Regions from separate parts of the Homo sapiens genome. Here all the other regions are linked to region 1. Evidence: promoter capture Hi-C in 16 types of primary human blood cells and fetal thymus (Javierre and others, 2016). All regions are on one chromosome and are shown on one strand. The core of a region is centred on a gene start or on the middle of the fragment in contact, and the rest is flanking DNA. Distances in the headings are between cores, read along the strand shown.

The links. The method cuts DNA at HindIII sites, captures the fragments that hold promoters and counts their contacts. A CHiCAGO score of 5 or more calls a contact.
Region 2: a contact is called between the fragment with the promoter of KLK13 here and a fragment that was not itself captured in region 1, in 3 of 17 cell types (M1 macrophages, M2 macrophages and M0 macrophages). The highest score is 8.9, in M1 macrophages.
Region 3: the fragment with the promoter of KLK11 here is called in contact with a fragment that was not itself captured in region 1 in 4 of 17 cell types (M0 macrophages, M1 macrophages, megakaryocytes and 1 more); the score reaches 8.1 in M0 macrophages.
Region 4: a contact is called between the fragment with the promoter of KLK9 here and a fragment that was not itself captured in region 1, in 3 of 17 cell types (M0 macrophages, M1 macrophages and M2 macrophages). The highest score is 7.2, in M0 macrophages.
Region 5: a contact is called between the fragment with the promoter of MYH14 here and a fragment that was not itself captured in region 1, in 1 of 17 cell types (naive B cells). The highest score is 5.8, in naive B cells.
Region 6: the fragment with the promoter of KLK6 here is called in contact with a fragment that was not itself captured in region 1 in 7 of 17 cell types (M1 macrophages, M0 macrophages, total B cells and 4 more); the score reaches 12.3 in M1 macrophages.
Region 7: a contact is called between the fragment with the promoter of KLK4 here and a fragment that was not itself captured in region 1, in 2 of 17 cell types (naive B cells and M2 macrophages). The highest score is 7.0, in naive B cells.

Annotation. Positions count from the first base shown.
Region 1 is chr19:50,582,543-50,585,129 of GRCh38, forward strand. No RefSeq gene overlaps it. Among named protein-coding and RNA genes, the nearest start is that of LRRC4B, 15 kb to the left of the region's middle. The HindIII fragment of the contact is 176 bases long and covers 1,204-1,379 here.
Region 2 is chr19:51,063,814-51,066,400 of GRCh38, forward strand. KLK13 (kallikrein related peptidase 13) reads right to left here and starts at 1,279. Exons shown (of 5, transcript NM_015596.3): 1 at 1,203-1,279. The coding sequence starts at 1,254. The HindIII fragment of the contact is 5,030 bases long and covers 1-2,587 here.
Region 3 is chr19:51,025,310-51,027,896 of GRCh38, forward strand. KLK11 (kallikrein related peptidase 11) reads right to left here and starts at 1,307. Exons shown (of 6, transcript NM_001136032.3): 1 at 1,229-1,307; 2 at 283-357. The coding sequence starts at 322. RefSeq lists enhancers at 386-944, 945-1,502, 2,062-2,587. The HindIII fragment of the contact is 2,362 bases long and covers 581-2,587 here.
Region 4 is chr19:51,008,281-51,010,867 of GRCh38, forward strand. It overlaps KLK9 (kallikrein related peptidase 9), which reads right to left and starts at 1,312. Exons shown (of 5, transcript NM_012315.2): 1 at 1,225-1,312; 2 at 903-1,059. The coding sequence starts at 1,267. RefSeq lists an enhancer at 1,195-1,695. The HindIII fragment of the contact is 11,592 bases long and covers 1-2,587 here.
Region 5 is chr19:50,202,310-50,204,896 of GRCh38, forward strand. It overlaps MYH14 (myosin heavy chain 14), which reads left to right and starts at 1,313. Exons shown (of 43, transcript NM_001145809.2): 1 at 1,313-1,362. It overlaps LOC124904746 (a long non-coding RNA gene), which reads right to left and starts at 1,667. Exons shown (of 3, transcript XR_007067298.1): 1 at 1,504-1,667. The HindIII fragment of the contact is 8,559 bases long and covers 659-2,587 here.
Region 6 is chr19:50,968,337-50,970,923 of GRCh38, forward strand. KLK6 (kallikrein related peptidase 6) reads right to left here and starts at 1,255. Exons shown (of 7, transcript NM_002774.4): 1 at 1,154-1,255; 2 at 205-255. LOC105372442 (a long non-coding RNA gene) reads left to right here. Exons shown (of 7, transcript XR_007067308.1): 4 at 1-17. The HindIII fragment of the contact is 4,765 bases long and covers 1-2,587 here.
Region 7 is chr19:50,910,110-50,912,696 of GRCh38, forward strand. KLK4 (kallikrein related peptidase 4) reads right to left here and starts at 1,286. Exons shown (of 6, transcript NM_004917.5): 1 at 1,230-1,286; 2 at 569-640. The coding sequence starts at 629. The HindIII fragment of the contact is 22,926 bases long and covers 1-2,587 here.

The sequences.
Region 1 (2,587 bases), core at 42-2,541:
TTTGCTGTGTTGCCAAAACTGGTCTTGAACTCCTGGCCTCAAGGGATCTGCCCGTCTCAGCTTCCGAAAGTGTTGGGATTACAGGCGTGAGCCACCGTGCCTGGCCCAGAGCAGTCTTACTGAGCCGAGGAGACAGAGAGAGGGCTCTGGGGGCTGCTGACAAGGCTGGAATTTGCAGGATAGGGCAGTGGGGAAAAGGGAGCCGCATGAGGTGGGCCCCCAGAAGCCTGTGTGTAGTTCACCATAGGTCCTTGGCTAAGGACTGGACGGTGTCTGCAGAGGACAAGACTCCATGAGTACCAGTCGGGGGTAGCTGCTACAAAGATGAGAGATGAACAGAAATAAAAGCCGTCATGCAGCGCTAGGAGATGAGTCTCCAGCCCAGCCAGAGTGGGAGGGCCTCACTAAGCTCCTGGGCACTCAGCTGAAAGCTCAGGAAGGCCATGCTTTAGGAGTAAGGCCCTGACTTAATATTCTGTTGAGTGGATACAGCATGGTTAATTTAACCATTCCTTTCTAGTTGGATACTCTGGTAATTTTATTTTTCAAAAACTAGGCCTGGCATGGTGGCTCATGCCTATAACCCCAGAACTCTGGGAGGCTGAGGTGGGTGGATCTGTTGAGCTCAGGAGTTTGAGGCCAGCCTGGCTAACATGGTAAAACCCCGTCTCCACTAAAAATACAAAAATTAGCCAGGTTTGGTGGTGCGTGCCTATAGTCCCAGCTACTTGGGAAGCTGAAGTAGGAGAATCGCTTAAACCCGGGAGGTGGAGGTTGCAGTGAGCCGAGATGGTACCACTGCACCCATCCAGCCTGGGTGACAGAGCAAGACTCTGTTCAAAAAAGAAGTAAAAATAAAAAATAAAAATAAAGGCCAGGCACAGTGGCTCACACCTGTAATCCCAGCACTTTGGGAGGCTAAGATGGGCGGATCACCTGAGGTCAGGAGGTCGAGACCAGCCTGGATAAGATGGCGAAACCCTGTCTCTACTAAAAATACAAAAATTAGCTGAGCATGGTGGCACGCGCCTGTAGTCCCAGCTTCTCAGGAGGCTGAGGCAGGAGAATCGCTTGAAACTGAGAGGCCGAGGTTGCAGTGAGCCGAGATCACGCCACTGCACTCCAGCCTGGGTGAGAAGAGCAAGACTCCATCTCAAAAAAAAAAAAAAACTATTATAAAATATCACCATGAACCTCTTTGTAAGCTTCTGACTTTCAGGTGAATTCCCAGGCATGGGATATTTTCAGGGTATGGACATTGTTCCTGTATTTGACACCTTTCACCAATTTGCTTTCCAAAATTGTGGCAATTTACCTTCTGACAACTGAGTATCAGCATGCATGTCTGTTTGGCTGCACTCTCTCTAGCATTTGGTAGAAGCTTAAAACATTTGTTGCTCATTTGATGGGCAGAGGAAGGAATCACTGAGCTGTTGTAATGCTATGCCTTTGGGCTTTATAAAAGGAACTAAATGAAACAGTTAATGTGAAAATTGCTTTAGCTTCTGCAGAAAACTTTTGTTAATGACCCAGCAATTCAACTCATAGGAACTTATATTCAGGAAGTCATCAGAGAGGTAGACAAAAATATACACACAGAGATGTATCTCATAGAATCATTTATTATAGCCAAATCTGAAAAAAACTTAAGTGTTAATGGAGTACATGTGATCTGGGGATGCTGCTTTACCTGTAGCCTGTTTTCATTTCACTCCTAAGTTATTTATTTATTTTATTTATTTTTATTTTTATTTTTTATTTTTAGAGACAGAGCCTCGCTCTGTTGCCCAGGCTGGAGTGCAGTGGCACAATCTCAGCTCATTGCAACCTTTGCCTCCCAGGTTCAAGCGATTCTCCTGCCTCAGCCTCCAGAGTAGCTGGGACTACAGGCCGGTACCACCATGCCCGGCTAATTTGTGTATTTTTAGTAGAGATGGGGTTTCACCACGTTGGCCAGACTCGTCTCAAACTCCTGACCTCAGATGATCTGCCTGACTCAGCCTCCCAAAGTGCTGGGATTACAGGCGTGAGCTTCTGTGCCCGGCCCTGCCATATTATTATTATTATTATTTTGAGACAGAGTCTTGCTCTGTCACCCAGGCTGGAGTGCAGTGGCACAATCTCAGCTCACTGCAATTTCCACCTCCTGAGTTCAAGAAATCCTCCCACCTCAGCCTCCTGAGTAGCTGGGACTACAGGCGCCTGCCACCACGCCCAGCTTATTTTTGTATTTTTTTGTAGAGATGGGGTTTTGTCATGTTTGCCCTGGCTGGTCTCAAACTCTTGGGCTCAAGCCCCCTGGGCTCAAGTGATCCAGCCGCCTTGGCCTCCCAAAGTGCTGGGATTATAGGCATAAGCCACCATTTCTGGCCACTCCTGCCTTATTGACTAATAATTTTATTATTATTATTATTGTTATTGAGACAGAGTCTCTGTCACCCAGGCTGGAGTGCAGCGGTGCAATCTTAGCTCACTCCAACCTCCACCTCCTTGGTTCAAGTGATTCTCTTGCCTTCGTCTCCCAAGTAGCTGGGATTACAGGTGCCCACCACCATACCCAGCTAATTTTTGTATTTATGGGGTTTCA
Region 2 (2,587 bases), core at 29-2,528, 480 kb after region 1:
CCGCCATTACATCTCTAGGCCCCTGGCTTGGCTCCTTGAAGTCTTCACCTCATGTCAAGATAATTATTAACTAATTATTTGGATAATTGTTTGAATAACATCTGCGTCTGTCCCCGCTAGACTCCAGGTGCTGAGAGCAGGGACTGTGTCTCTGCTTGTACAGCACCCAGCACAGTGGCCGGTGTTTAATAGCTGTTTGTTGAATGAATAAATGATTCATGAACGGGGTTTCCAGAGAACCTGCCTACAACGGCAGGGAAAGATGGGAAAGATCCATAAGGATCTTAAGGACTACCAATTTGGGGTGAGGTCACATAGGTTTGGGGTCAACCCAAGGATTAAAATAACAATCTAGAAGGTTCTGGAAGGGGCTGAGTATGAAGACAGAATACTAGAGGCCGGGCTCGGTGGCTCATGCCTGTAATCCTGGCACTTTGGGAGGCTGACGCGGGCTACTTGAAGTTAGAAGTTCGAGACCAGCCTAACCAACATGGCGAAACCCCGTCTCTGCTGAAAATACAAAAATTAGTTGGGCGTGGTGGCGGGCGCCTGTAATCCCAGCTACTCGGGAGGCTGAGGCAGGAGAATCGCTTCAACCCGGGAGGCGGAGGTTTCAGTAAGCCAAGATCGTGCCACTGCCTTCCAGCCTGGGAGACAGAGCAAGGTTCCATCTCAAAAAAAAAAAAAAAAAAAAAAAGGAATACTACTAATAAAGTAATAACGGCTAAGTGGCTAACTTTCAAGTCCCTTCTACCTGCGACATACTGAAGGCTCGACGCATTACCTCGTTTCAATATTCACAGTGACCTTCTCTGGTAAGCACTTATAGATTAAGCCCATTTTCCAGATGAAAACAATTTAGGCACAAAGCAGCTGCTAGGCTACTGGCTCAAAGCGGCAGCGTCAGGACGCGAACCCATGTCTTTCAGCTTTCCAGAGAGGACAGGAAGCCTTGAACGCGGGAGGGGCTGCTGCGAGGGTATTTTGGGAGGTGAAGGGTCTGGGGTCGGAGGGCCAACCTCAGCCGGGAAACCAGGTCACCCAGGGACAAGCAGGAAGAGCTCTGAGCTGTCCCCACTGGACCCGGCCCCGAGTGGGCGGGGGGCGGAGCTCGCGGCTCCCACGCCCCCTCCCCCTCCGGCCTGACCCCTCCTACCATTGTCCCGAATGGCCGCCGCGCCTCCACCCCCGCGCATTCTTACCTCCTGACAAGGCCAAGGTCAGGGAGGCGATCACTAGGGCCAGGGGCCACATGGCTCCGGGATCGGGAGGGGAGGGCAGGGCGGGCGGGGCCTGAGGAGAAGGTGAAGGGGGTGTTGAGGGCGTGCCCGGAACCTCCGCGTCTGAAACCTCTCTGCTCCTGAATGTCTCCTCGCCTCATTCACTCTTGACAGCCCTGACCCTGGAATCTGCCCCCCGCCTCCAATTCCATCCTTGGTGGGGGTGCAGTGGCGAGGTGGGAGGAACAGTGTGCAACCTCCTGGGGCTCCGGCGTGCAGCCCCTCACCCCAGGAAGCCGTCCCTCCTCCCCTGCCCTCTGGCGAGCTGGGTGGTCGGTGCACTCTCGCCCTTTTCCTCCAGAGTCTGCCTTCCATTCTACCCCTCTGGGTCTGTCCACACGCTTGGTATTAGCCCAAGTTCTTATCTGTCCGCGCCCTTCGCCTCTCTCCGTCTCTGCAGGTTTCTCTCTAGATCTGAGACTCTAGCTTCACTCTCCCTCTCCCTGACTCAGCTGCCCTTCTGCTTTCCCCATCCTTCCTATCCCCTCTTCTCTCCCCTCCCTGCCCTCCTCCGCTCCCCGCCCCCGCCCCAGGCAGACCCTACCTGAGTGAGGGGCCCACGAGGAGCGTCAGCCGCCAGCTGTCTAGAACTTCAGCCCCGAACCATGGCTTTTAACCCCTGAACTCCCTCCCCCAGCTCACTCAGCATTTCCTGGTCCCTGGCCTCCCCCTCTCCACCCCCAGTGGCTCAGCGGGATGTCTCCAGGCACCCCCGACCTGGGCTTGGCCCTCTGCTTGGGGCGGAGCTTCCAGGACGTGCTGGGACCTAGGTCTGACCCCGCCCAAGGCAGAGTTGAACCCACTGTGAACTTTCAGGCCTCAGGACCCAAAAAAGGGTAAGGGGAAAGCCCATTTCCTTCCCCCTACCCCGCTGAGTTCCATGCCCATCCCTAACTTCAACCCATTCTGCACCCAGTTTTCTAACCTCTTCTCCAACCCCATGCATAATTCTTAATAGGCAGTCAGCCCCCAGATGGCCGTGTTCTATCAGATTCCCACCTCCCTATCCATCCCTAACCATACCAAGTACTCCAGCCTGTTCCTCAACCCCAGTCCCATCTCCAACCTCATCTCAGGTTTAGCTCTCAACACATCCAGGTTCCAATTCCCAGTCTCATCTCAACCCTTTTTCTTTTGAAAGACACAAGGACACCCACAATTATCCCATCATCCTGCCTCCCTGCTCCCGCCAACCACCGGACACAAGAAGGAAATCATCAGCTGGGTGGATAGAAAATCAGCTCCCTCGGACTTGGATGGGGGCAGAGATGCGACCTGAGAAAGCAACATTTTCCAGAAATGGCCTT
Region 3 (2,587 bases), core at 57-2,556, 440 kb after region 1:
AGTAGCCCCTGTCCTGGGCGCTTTGAGTGACTGCTCCCCCAACTCCAGCTTCCTCAGCCCCTCCACGGGACCCTTTACGACCCCCTTGACCTCTCCTCCTTTGGCATTTAAAGGGATTATCTAGAAGGGCATCCAGGCCCTCATGACCACTGCTCCAGTTCAGGTGCCTTATGGGTTGTTCTGTAATTTGGAATCAGCCCTGTCACTGTCCAGACACAGAGGGTTAGGGGATCCCAGAGATTCAAGAGGGAGGATCCTGCCCTGCCCCCATCCCCTGCGTACCTGTTGCCAGAGCAAGCAGGATTAACTGCAGAATCCTCATGGCCTGGAGGGGGGAGGAGCGGGCCCCAGGTTCCTCTGGGAACAAGGAGGGACATGGGGCCGCATCACTTTACGGGGAAATCGGGAGGGGGGGGCTGGCTCATGCCCTCTCCTCTCTCCCTCACCTGCTCCCGCTCCCCACTTGGGAGAAACAAGGTTGGGGAAATCCCCTGTTTCTCACAGCACTCAGATCTCCAAACACTTAAAATATATCTTAGGTGTCTAGGGTGGCCTTGGAGAGGGCCTGGTCACAGCTAGAAGCTTCCGAGATACCAAGAACCATGTGGAAGTCGTTGGGAGGGGCTTTGAGCTGTCAAGCCATGGTTCGGCCCTGTTCAAGTCAGCCATGGGACCTCCCCGGCACATGTCAGAGGATGTTTTCCTTCTTGCCTTGAGAGCTGGCCAGGCCCCAGCAGCTTGGGGTGGAAGGACAAGGGGAACCAGACACCGTTCCGTAGCCACCCCTTTTTCATTGTCTTCGCAGCAGAGCGATATGGAGCCTTTGAGGTCTGCTGGAGGGGAGTAGGGGGCTCAGCCCCAGACAATGTCTGGGACCCCCATCACCCGGCTTGCTGAAGCCCTGTCCGCCAAACCCCTGCCCTTTTGAAGGACAGCCAAGCAAAGCTGGGCGGGGCTGGTCGAGGGGAGGGCCAGTGCCCTCCGCTGCCCTGGCCAGCGGGGGTGGGAGCAGAGGGCCAGCTCAGCAGCTGAAGCCATGGAGATTAGAGGTAACTGAGGCTGCGGACAGCCATCGGAGGTGAGAGGTGTAGAGAGAGGCCAGGAACCCCCACCCAAGCAGAGAAGGACAGAGCAGAGGGAGAAATGGGTGCCCGAGTGGGACAGGTGTCCTTGGGGAGGGCTGACACCTGGACGGGGAGGGGCAGCTTCCCTTTCCTCCTGGACTCACAGGCTCTGGGGCTGGGGCTCTGGGGGCCCAGTGGCGGCGGAGACGGCAGTGGCGGCAGCTACAGCAGGTAGGCTGGGTTGGAGCGCCAGGTGCCAGGCACCAGGCAGGCGGGCTGGCAGGGGGGCGGCCCTGGGCGGGCCCAGGATGACTGGCCTCCAAGCCCTGCCTTAATGCCCCGGGGCGGGGTGTGTGTGAGGGCCCTCCCCGGAGGCCTCTGAGGCACTGGCTGCCTGCCTGTGCCACCTCTCCAAGCCCCTCTTCTCCCTGTGTCTCAGCCTCCCTCTGTCTGTCTGTCTGTCTGCAGCCTTCCTTTCCCTGCCCTGAGTCTCTGAATCTGTGTCTCGTTCTATGTGTCATTCCCTGTCATTCAGTAATTCTGACTTTGTGTGATTTTTCTCTTTCTGTCCCTATGTGTCTGTCTGCCTTTCTCTGTCCTCGTCCCTGTCTCCATCTCCACTCTTCTCTCTCTGTCTGGCTCTGTGTGGCCCTTTCTCTAATTCCTTCTATCTTTGTGTCTCTCAGTCAGTCTCTCTGACTGCATCTCTGGCAATTTGTCTTGAAATCCCTCTTCTTCCATCTAATCTCCGTCTCTCTTTTTCCTCCCGTCCCAGCCACTCCCTCTCCACAGCCCCAGCCCAGGTGGGCCCCTGGCCTCCCCTAGGCCGCTCCCTTCTCCTTTGCAAGGAGAGGGGGGGTGTGCTGGGATGTCACACAGGTGGGGCTGCTGCCAGGCACAGGGGCAGGACCGGAGGGTGGGGGAGGCAGGTCAGGGCCTGTGGAAGCCGAGTCCAGGAAAGGGAACAGAGCCCTTGGCTGTGCTCCACCCCAGGGCTCCTCTGGGGCCTCGCTCCTCTGCTGACCCTTCCCCTGCCCGCTTCTCCCTGCCGCCCAGGCAGCCCGAGTCCAGCTGTTCACTTACTGGCTGCTGTGAGACCTCTGCCCGATGACTTCCAGTCCCGCAGCCACCTCAACCTCTGCATCTGCGGAACCCGAGCGCAGATTCCTGCTTCTCCCAGCTTGTTTGTTTTCAGTTAGGTCCCTTCCCTTGGCTTTCCTCCCCTCTCTCCCCTGACCAGGTGTGGAGCAAGGCAGGGGAGGGCCTAGGTTCTGACAGCAGCCAGCCCTGGCCTCAAACCTAGGTGCTTCCTCTTCCTACTACTATGACTACCCTTATGACGTGGGGACAAGGGACTCCACCCCTGCAAGGCTCAGTTTCTTCATCTGAGAGATGGGGGTGACAGACCTGCTTGCAGGGGAGGTTGGGATCAGGCTTCCAGGAGGGTCCACTTGGAAAGAGCAGACTGCGGGGGGGCTCAGCAAATGTGCCTCCGCTGGTATGATCACCCCTCACTCCCTCCC
Region 4 (2,587 bases), core at 62-2,561, 430 kb after region 1:
TGAGCTGAGATTGTGCCACTGCACTCCAGCCTGGGAGATAGAGGGAGACTCTGTCTCAAAAAAAAAAAAAAAAAAAAAAAAGAAAGACTAGAATGTCATCATTCTATAAATCTATAACCTTAGAAATTTAAGAGTCTGGGATTCAAATAGTTTAAGACTACAGAATTATCTGAATCTCAATATTCTAGGATACTGTGAATCAAAGATTCTAGTACTGTGAGTTTCAATATTCAATGAATCTAGAAAGCTCTGAATTTAAGATTCTAGGATCACACTAGCCATTATGGCTATTGAACACTTGAAATGTGGCTAGTCCATTTTGTAACAGGCTATGTGTGTAAAATACAGAACAGATTTCAAAGGCTTAGTACCAAAACAAAAGTAAACTGTATCGTTCATACGTATTTAAAAATTGATTACATGTCAAAATAAGTTTTTGGGTATGTCAAGTTAAATCTATTAGAATTAATTTTACTCATTCCTTATTTTTTAAATGTGTCCACCAGAAATTTAAACTTACACATGTGGCTGGCATCATAATTCCTCTGGGCAGTGCTGACCCAGACTGCTAAGATTCTAATAGTCTGCGAATCTATGATTCTAAAATTTGCTGAGGCTATTGCAGAATTTCATAAATTCAAGATTTTAGGATTCTACGATTCTGGATTTCTCTGGGTCAGTCTCGGATTCGAAGAGCCTAAGTTTCGAATCTTAGACTTCTCAAATGAGATATTGCTGGTCTCTAGAATTTTAGGATTTGGGAGGCTACCCTTCCTACTTCTAAGAGTTGAACTTGTGGTATCAGAAGTGGAGGCTCCGCACTTCTGGCCTAAAGCACCCCTCACCCTCTCCTGACCCCCAGCCTCTGTCCCTCCCCAGCATGGCCAGCCTGGGTCACTCACGGCTTGCGGCAGTGGGCAGCTGTGAGCAGCCAGCGGTCACTGATGAGGGTCGCCCCACAGAAGAGCCGAGTAAGGTGGAAGAGGCCGGCCTGCCAAGGCTGGGAGTTGGGGCGACATTCCTCGGCCCCGATGGCACGGGTGTCTGCCCAGCCATGCCCTGGGGTGGGGATGAGGGACAAAGGGGTCAGCGAAGAGCAGGCTGGGAGGGCAGGGAGAGGATGCTGAGAAGCCTAGAGGGCAGGAGGCAGAAGCCTGGGATGGGAGGGAAGAGCAAGGTGACCTTAGTACAGCCGTGAAGGGGCAGCCAGCCTGGGAGCCTCACCTGCCAGCAGAGAGAGCAGAGCACAGAGGAGTCCCAGCTTCATGACCCCTGGGCACCTGGATCCTGGAACGTGCACCCGGCGTCCAGTGCTTCTTTATGGTAAGCCATGCCATCTCCTTCCTCCTCCATGGGGCCGCCCCTGTGATTAATCGGGGTTGGGAAATGTACCTGGGGGAGGGGGAAGCCCTGGGGCTGTGACAGGGGCCTTGGGAGAGGAGGTAAGTGCAGGGGGACCCCCCTTTTGGGATGAACTGGCGGCTTGCTGGGCCAGAGCTTGACTGAATGGAGGAGGAGTGCTGGGGGTGTGGAGAGGTTGTGGGCACCTCCTCTGGGGTCTTCAGAGTGGGAGACCTCATTCCTCATCACCTTAGGCTACAAGATACAGAATCTTTTGTGTCCTGGAAAAGGAGGGAGATCCTTGAAGCCTAAGGTCCTGGGGTGCAGCAGGTTTATTTTGGATAAAGCAGTGGTGTGCAGAGACCAACCTCCCACGGCAGGCTGGAGGGATGTGCAGGGGGACCACCCAGAAAGGAGGCGAGGGGTGGAAGACAGAGTCAGGACTCAGACACAAGAGCAAAAGATACAAAGAGAGGGAGGTACAGGCACAGAAGGACCCAAGATGAGAGGAGGAGTGGGAGGAGGAGACAGAACACGGGAAAGATTGAGGGAAATCCAGGTGGAGTGAGGCAGAGACCACAGGCAGCTGCACAGGTTTACACACCTTGCAGAACCTTCCCTGCCCTGGGGATTTGGGCCTCTTCCCACAAGGACAAGGCCCTCTCCTAGAATGTTGAGAAATCTGGTTCCATCTGGATTAACCCACTCTTGTCATAACCTGCCCCCTTCCCCACGGCTCCACCACCCAAGGACCCAGGTGCCCAACCTTCCAGGTAGCAAGTGCCCTGTGCTCTCTCTTAATACATCCTGATCTTTGCCAAATCCTGAGAACATTTGCTATATATTTTTTTCATCCATCTCCCTGCCCCCCACCCCATTGTCCCTTCCATCACCCCATCCTCCCTGCCTCTCTCCTCATCATTCCTTCTCACCAGGTGGACAGCTTCTGGAGGGCTGGGCCCAGGTCTGACTCATCTCTGTGTCCCAGCATCACCCCGTTCCAGGCGGAACAGGGCTTGCAGAAGTCCTCAGGAGATGTTCATTGAATGAGTGAATGTCTTTCTCCATATCCTTCTTTTCCTGGTGAACTCCCACTCATCCTTCAACACCCAACCTCAATTCTCCCTCCTCCAGGAAATCTCTGAGATCCTCAGGCAGAGTCCATCTTTGCCTCCCCTGGGCACTTACGATCCCTTCCACTTTCTCCTGCTCACAGGCCTGGTTATGAAGCTGGGTCTGGGCTCCC
Region 5 (2,587 bases), core at 63-2,562, 380 kb before region 1:
GTATGAAGGGGAGGGCCTGGGGGTGAGATCAGAGAGAGCAAAAGGGCCAGCCACATCCCGCAGGACCTCATTGGCCATGGTGAGTTCTTAGACTTTTACTGAGTGAAATGGGAGCCATGGAAGGCTCTGAACAGAGGAAAGGCCCCATCTGAATAGAGTAGACTGTAGGGAGAGCAAGGGTGAAGGCAGACAGTCCATCACTCCCATTTTACGAGTGCAGAAATAAATGGAATCTCAAAAAAGTCCAGCAACTGGCCTGAGCCCACACAGCTGCTGAGCAGCCGAGCCAAGCTGGCAGGCCTCCTTGGGTTCAGTGGAGCCATTCCTTTGTGCCCTTGGCTCTTTTTATTTTCCTTTTAAATAGAGATGGGGCCTATGTTGCCCAGGCTGGTCTTGACCTCCTGGGCTCAAGTGATCCTCCCACCCTGGCCTCCCAAAGTGTTGGGATTACAGGTGTGAGCCACGGCACCCTTCCAACCTTGGGAAGTCTTTTGGCTCTCCTGAGCCTCAGTTTTCCCATCTGTAAATTGTAAATGGGGAATCATTACCACGTTTGGGCATAGCATGGCGGTTAAAAGCACAACTTCTGGTTGGATCTGAGTCCTTGCTCTGCCATCGGCCAGCTCTGTGACTTTCTGCAATTAACACCCTCTTTCTAAGCTTGGGGTTACCTCATCTAGAAGATGAAGATCTTAATAGCACCAATTTCAAGGGCTTCGTTGTAAGGATTAAATGAGATCATGCAGGTAAGGCGCTTAGCACAGCTCCCGGTCTACATCGAAGTGCTTGATAAACGATCATTGTTATTCCGATAGTATCACGGCCCACACCTCCCCGGTGGGTGAGAGCCTGGGAGGGTGCCTGGTACATGGTCTACGTTCGACAAAAGTGAATTCTGTCTCCTGTCTCTCCTGCCCGCCGGGTCCCGGGGGACCCAGGCATTCCGGCCTTCGGTCGGCCCCCCCACGCCGGCCCTTACAAAGGCCCCCATTCATGCCTTGCGCACAAAGCGGCCCATTCACCCTGGCCCCTTGGGCCTCCCGCCCCCGGCCGCCCCCCGCGCCTCGCTATTGGTGGCGCCCCGTGCCCATCAGGCCTCGGCTTCCACCCCCGACCGCGCCGCCTAGCTCCGCGCCCGGGCCGCGTTCTTTTCCCACGGCTGGCACCCTTCGACAACTTCTGATTGGCCCAGCCCGCCAGCCGCTCTTTTTGATTGGCGGCTCCCGTCCCCCAGGGGCGGGGCCGTAGCTTGCCGCAGCGGGCGCCGATTGGCCTCTGCTGCTCTCTTGGGGGCGGGGCTGTCCTGGCGGACACGCCCCTCTTTCTCCCCAGGCCGAAGCCTCGGGACGGCCCTGGAAGCCGGTGAGTGCCCGGGGCCGGCAGCCCTCCGGGGGCGGCGGAACGGGACTGAGCCAGGGGAAGCTGGAGCCTGGGGGCTGCGATCGGGGCCCGGGAGCCCGGGCAGGCGGCCGGGGACGGCGGGGAGGTGACGCGGACACTCACCTTGGGCGCGCAGCGGGACGGCGGCGAGGGAGGTGGGGGGGCGGGACGTCTACACTCCCCCAACTCCAGTTGCCGCCGTGTGCGAGGCCCGGTCGGGGTCCTCGTTGTCAGCCCCGGGCCTGTTCCGCAGAAGGGGAAACTGAGGCTGTCTTTGGAACCTCGGCCGCTTTAATACCTGAGTCATCGCCTCCAGTCCCCCGCCCCCAGCATGACATGTCTCTGTTCTCACGTGTCAGAATCGGAGGCCAGAGAGAGGGGTCGTGACTGGAAGAGGCGGAGGGGTAGGGAAGGACATATTTGAGAACCTATGATGTACTTGGACGCTTTTATTTTTTATAACTAAATAATTTCCTTTCCTTATCGTGTTGACTCGAGGTGAGTTATATTGTACCCATTATACAGAGAGGGGAAGGCTGAGACTGGGCCGAATTGGTGACTGCAGGGGGACCTGGTGGAGAAGAACACTCCAGAGACCAACTGTGTGCTGGGTCCTTTAACCTTTTCAGTCCCACAGGAGTCCCCTAAGGAAAGCGGTGGTCCCTGTGGCATAGATGGGGAAGCAGGTTGGTAGTAATCACCAACTGGGACGCAGAAATTCATGTCTTTAGGGACCTGCTACAAGTTCTTTCCAGACCCCCTCCTTTAGAATGGCAGAAAACGGTATAGGCTTGAATTCCAGACCTCCCTCTTACGCTGTGTGATCTTGAGTGCCTTACTTTGACCCTTCCTGCCTCAGTTTCCACATCAGAGAAATGGACATGCTGATCACCCCTATGTCATTGGTTGTTGAGGTTATTCTAGGCCGGGCGCAGTGGCTCAGGCCTGTAATCCCAGCACTTTGGGAGGTGGAAGCGAAAGAATCGCTTGAGCCCAGGAGTTCGAGACCAGCTTGGGCAACACAGCGAGACTTCGTCTCTACAAAAAGTAAAAGAGTTAGCCGGGCGTGGTGGCGTGACCCTGCTGTCCCAGCTACTCGGGAGGCTGAGCAGGGAGGATCGGTTGAGCCCAGGAGGTCAAGGCTGCAGTGAGCCATGATCGTGGCATTGCACTCCAAGCTGGGCAACAGAGAGAGACCCTGTCTCTC
Region 6 (2,587 bases), core at 5-2,504, 390 kb after region 1:
TGGTCCAGTAACCCATGGTGAGATTCTGATTAGATCTTTCTACTTTCTTGGGCACTGATTTGCCTTCCTGTCGACAGGAGAGGGTTACCCTAGGGGGCCCTAGCGTTCTTCCTCTGTATGGGAGTTTTCCTCGGAGCCTGGCTCTGTGCGCAATGGCCACCCACCCCGCCCACCCGGCAGGTTCTGTGATGTCTGTGATCTCACCTGCTGCAGGCCTCCGGGCTCCGGGGATTCTTGAGTCGGGGGAAGGAACAGCTTTGAGACGAGGAGGCAGAAAGAGTTAGAAATGCGGGGAGCCGTGAGGAGAGAAGACACTCAGATGCAGTGGCAGAGCCAAGCGGAGGACGCAGGGGCCGCAGAGCCCAGGGCTGCAGGGACTGCCAGACACACACCCCCAGCTCCCAGGCCTCCCTGGAAGAGGCTGGTTCTGTCCCCAGATGCTTCTGGAACGTCCTTTTAACCCCTGTCTCTCAGGTCCCTGAGCCAGGAGACTGGCTACACCCTTTTCCTCCTTACCCAGGCCTCCCACACACATTCCTCCCGCCCCCACGCTCTGCTCTTGGTGACCCCTGACCAGGCCTCCAGGGAAGGGAGCACTGGTCCCTGAGTGCAGTGAGGGCCTGGACTCCTGGGTCTGAGGGAGGAGGGGCTTGGGGGCCTGGACTCCTGAGTCTGAGGGAGGAGGGGCTGGGGGCCTGGACCCTTGCGTCTGAGGGAGGAGGGGCTTGGGGCCTGGACTCCTGGGTCTGAGGGAGGAGGTGAGAACTTGGACTCCTGGGTCTGAGGGAGGAGGGGCTGGGGGCCTGGACTCCTGAGTCTGAGGGAGGAGGTGGGAACTTGGACTCCTGGGTCTGAGGGAGGAGGGGCTAGGACCTAAACTCCTGGGTCTGAGGGAGGAGGGGCTGGGGCCTGAATCTGAGGCAGAGGAAGTTCTAGTCGGCTCAGTCCTTAGACCTCCGGGTTTTGGAGAAAGAAAGTGTCTGAAGACAAATTCCGGCCTCTGGGGCAAGCAGATGGTGCCCCAGGCCTCCCTGCACCCCCAGCACTCTCTGTGCCACCCAGGGACCTGCAGGCCCTCACTCCGGGCTCTAGAGCCCTCCGGCACTGGGAAGCAGCCTGCCCAGGTTCAGTGCGGTTGGGGTGACTCACACACCTGCCCGTAGGTCCCTCTGTGTGCTGCCTGCCGACCTCTGTGTCCCCAGGAGAGAGCGAGCCAGCCAGCCGGGGAGACAGCTACAGCGTGTGTCACCACACTGGCCCCCGCCCCTGCCCCGGGCTGGGGAGCAGGCCCAGGCGCGATGGGGAAAGGGCCCAGGAACAATCGGGCTTTGTCCGCCCCCAGCACCCCAGTGCCATGCTCCCAGCAGCTCCGGCCTCAACCTCTCTTCCGGCGGGCAGGCGGGAGGGCGGTTACATCAATGGCTTCCTTTTGTCCCTGTCTGACAGTCCTCCTTTGCAGTCTCTGACTGCCCACCTGGCCCTGACTGGAGATTTCGGCACTCCACATCCTCCTGGTCCTTCTCCTCCAAGTCTGCCCACCCCTGAGGTCTCTTGCTCCATCTGTCTCCCTGGCCATGGAGGGGAGGGAGCTTCCATCTCTCTCTCTCTCCCATCTCAGTCTCTGTATTTGTGTCTCTCTCCCTCTTTTTTTCTCTCTCTCCCTTCCTCTCTCCCTTCCTCTCTCCCTTCCTCCCTTCCTTCCTTCCTTCTTTCTTTCCTTCCTTCTTTTCTTTCTTTCTTTCTTTTTTTTTGACGGAGTCTTGCTCTGTCACTCAGGCTGGAGTGCAGTGGTGTGATCTCAGTTCACTGCAACCTCCGCCTCCTGAGTTCAAGCAGTTCTCCTGCCTCAGCTTCCCAAGTAGCTGGGATTACAGGCACCCACCACCACGCCCGGCTAAATGTTTTTTGTATTTTTAGTAGGGAAGAGGTTTCACCATGTTGGCCAGGCTGGTCTCAAACTCCTGACCTCAGGTGATCCACCCACCTTGGCCTCCCAAAGTGCTGGATTACAGGTGTGAGCCACTGTGCCCGGCCTCTCTCCCTTTCTTTCCCCTTGATTCTCTGACTCTCCGTGCTTATCTTCTCCTGGGTCTCTTCTTAGATTTCCCCGGGGGTAGCACTGTGTGTGCCCAGAAGGGAGTCAGTTTCCCCAGGAAGTAGCGGGGATGATTCCCGAGCGATGAGGAAGCTAGCAGGATGGAAGAGGACTTGAGGACTTATTGATGAGATGCGGACACACAGCGAGAGGCATGGAGTTAAGCAGAAATCGGAGAGCACTTGGGAACGACGTGGGGCTGTGATAAGATGGTGGTGCTGGGCAGTAGCAGAGGGATCTGGGAAGATTTAGGGAGGTGTCTTTGAACTTGGGCCTAGAAAGCTGAGCCAGGCGTAGGTCAGGAGGAAAGGCCGTGAAAATGCCTGGCCTGGGTGCACATGGGAAACCACAGGCAGTGGTTGGGGTGGTTGGTATGGGCTGGAGGGTGAGGGTGTGTGCGTGGCAGAGTGGAGAGAAATGAGGAGGGGGAAGTCACTGCGTAATAAGGACAATGATAGGAATGAAGTCTGGCTCAGCACCTGCTTGGGCTGG
Region 7 (2,587 bases), core at 36-2,535, 330 kb after region 1:
GGGTGGAGTTGTTGCTGGGAGCAAGGATCGGGTCACTTGTCTGCGCAGACTGATGCTCAAAGAGTCGGTCCTGCGCCGAGTCACTCCTATCCTCTCCCAGCCTTGCCCACAGTCACACCAAGCCACAAGCCCATGCACACCAAAACACCGTTTTATAGTCCTGTGAGGTGAGTTCCTTGGGGATGGGAGAGGGGGATCTCAGGACTGAAGACCCAGGAAGCAGGCACAGATTCCCAGCAATGGATCACGCCCCAGGAAGCACAATCTCCTGCACCCTCGGCTTCCCCTGTCCCCATATCATCATTACACTGTTGTCACTCCACCAGATATTCAGAGGCACAAACTGTCAGAGTCTCACAGGTACAACCACACACCCAGGCACACTGCCACACACAAATTTACCACGATACAAGGAGTTGCAGGGGCACAGCCATGGGGGACGGATAACACGGTACCGTCTCACAGGCAGCTTTGCAGTCACAAGCAAGAGGACACTGAGTCACACCTGAACATTAACAAACACTGTGCCCCCAAGCACGGACAGACACACACACGCATACTCAGATACCTGCGACACCAAGGATGAGGTACCCCAGGAACCAGCCCCAGGGATTTCCTGCTGTGGCCATCACGTCAGCACCTGGGGATGAGGACTGAGACTTAGCCGTGTCTGGGGATCTTCAGCCCAAGTCTCTCCATCCCTCTCTTTGTCCCTCCCTTTCTTCCCTCTGGGACGTTATTAGGTAGGCAAGAGCCTAGACCATCTACCCCCTCTCCCATCCATGGACCCAGAACCTAGAGAGACAGATTTAGAGACTGAGAGAGAAAAAGAGAGAGAGAGATGGGAAAAGAGAGAGAGAGAGAGAACTAGGTAGAAAGGAAAGTTTAGAGAAAGCATCTAGCCATCTGTGAATGGGGAGAGATGGTGTCTAGCCACCCACAAACAAGCATGGAGGGAAGACACACAGAGAATCAGAGCCGGAGAGACAGAGTGCTTGAGAGATATCCTCAGAGACAGTCTGAGAGTTAGACATGGAGATATAGATTCAGAGAGACAGAGAGACCCCTAACTAGAGACAGTGACTCCTAACTAGAGACAGTGAGAGATCTGTCTAGAGAGATGTGGAGACAGAAGGCACAGAGGCTGAGAATCCAGCGACATGGAGCTGTAGGGAGAGTTGGATCATGAACACTGCAGGCTTTTAGTGGGGGACCACCAGGCCTCTTACCCGGCCACCTCTGGGCTCCTGGATTCCACTGCTGGGCTGAGCTCCAGCCTGCTGCCTCCCGCAGGGGCCTCCTTGGGGCTTATAAGCATCCTCAGCCTGGGCTGGCCTGCCCCCAGGGGATGTGTTCCAGGGGTCAGGTGCTGCAAACTTCCAGCTCAACTCTCTCAGGCTGCCTCAACTCTGACCAGGCAGTGGTTGGGGGCCCAGAAGGGGCTGGCAGCAGGGTCTAGGGACCCAGGGAGGAGACCCCTGCCCAGATCCTAGACTCCACTCTCCTTTTTCTTTCTCTCTCTCTCTCTCATTCTTTCTCTTTTCATGTTCTTATTCTCTCTCATGAGATACCTCTCTCTTGCCTGTATCTCTCATTTTCTCTTTCTCTTCTTCTTTCTTTCTCTCATTCTCTCTCTCATTATTTTTCTCGTGTTTTCTTTCATTTCCTCTCATTCTCTCCTGTTCTCTCTCATGTTCTTTCTCTTTTTAAATTAAATCTCTCTCTCTCTCTCCCCTCCTCCTTCATCCCTCTCTTTCTGTGCTTCTCCAGCAAATTTCCCCAGGTTCGTATCCAGCCTACATCACGAACTATTTTTGGAACCTTGGGCAAGTGACTGCACCCCTGTGAGCCTGTTTTTCCAACTGTAAAACTGGAGTGACCATTATGCCCCATTTCCCAAGTGGATTCAAAGAGGTAATTCAGGGAAAGGCACACAGTGCCAGGCACATTGTAGGCTCTCGGTGAGCGGGAGAACTAAAAAGTCTTCGCTCAGTGAAAAGCAGCTGAGTGCCTACCACACTCCGAGCTCTGCGGCAGGTGCTGGGGCCACAGGAGGAACCAGCAAAGTCCTCGTCACTGGGGATCGCGTCCTACCCGGGGGCACAGACCATAAAGGAAAACTGCAGGGACCAGCATATAAGGTGGTGGTCGGGGAGACTCAGAGAAGGGGAACATTTAAGCTGAGATCCCAGGGAAGAGGAGGAGGAGGGTCGCCGCAGCAGGGGCGGTTGCGGGGTGCAGGGGAGAACTTGGCTCCAGCCAGAGGAGGGCAGGGCGGGTAGGAGGGCAGGGCGGGTAGGAGCGCAGACCGGGAACCGGGCGGGCCTGCAGGAGTTTACGTACCAGGATTAAGGAGCTTGGGTTTTACTTAAGTGCAATGGATTTTAAGCACGAGGATGGAGTGACATAATCTTATTTACTTTTTAAAAACTTCCAGCTTGGAGAGTGATGGTGGGGGCGGGGCGGGGGGCAGTGGCAACAGCCCAGGTGGGAGGTGACGGGGTCAAGGGAGAAGAGAGGTGAATGGACACGGGGTCCCCTCTGCATGTGGAGCCAAGTTACTGCCCGATGGATGGAAAGTGGGGGG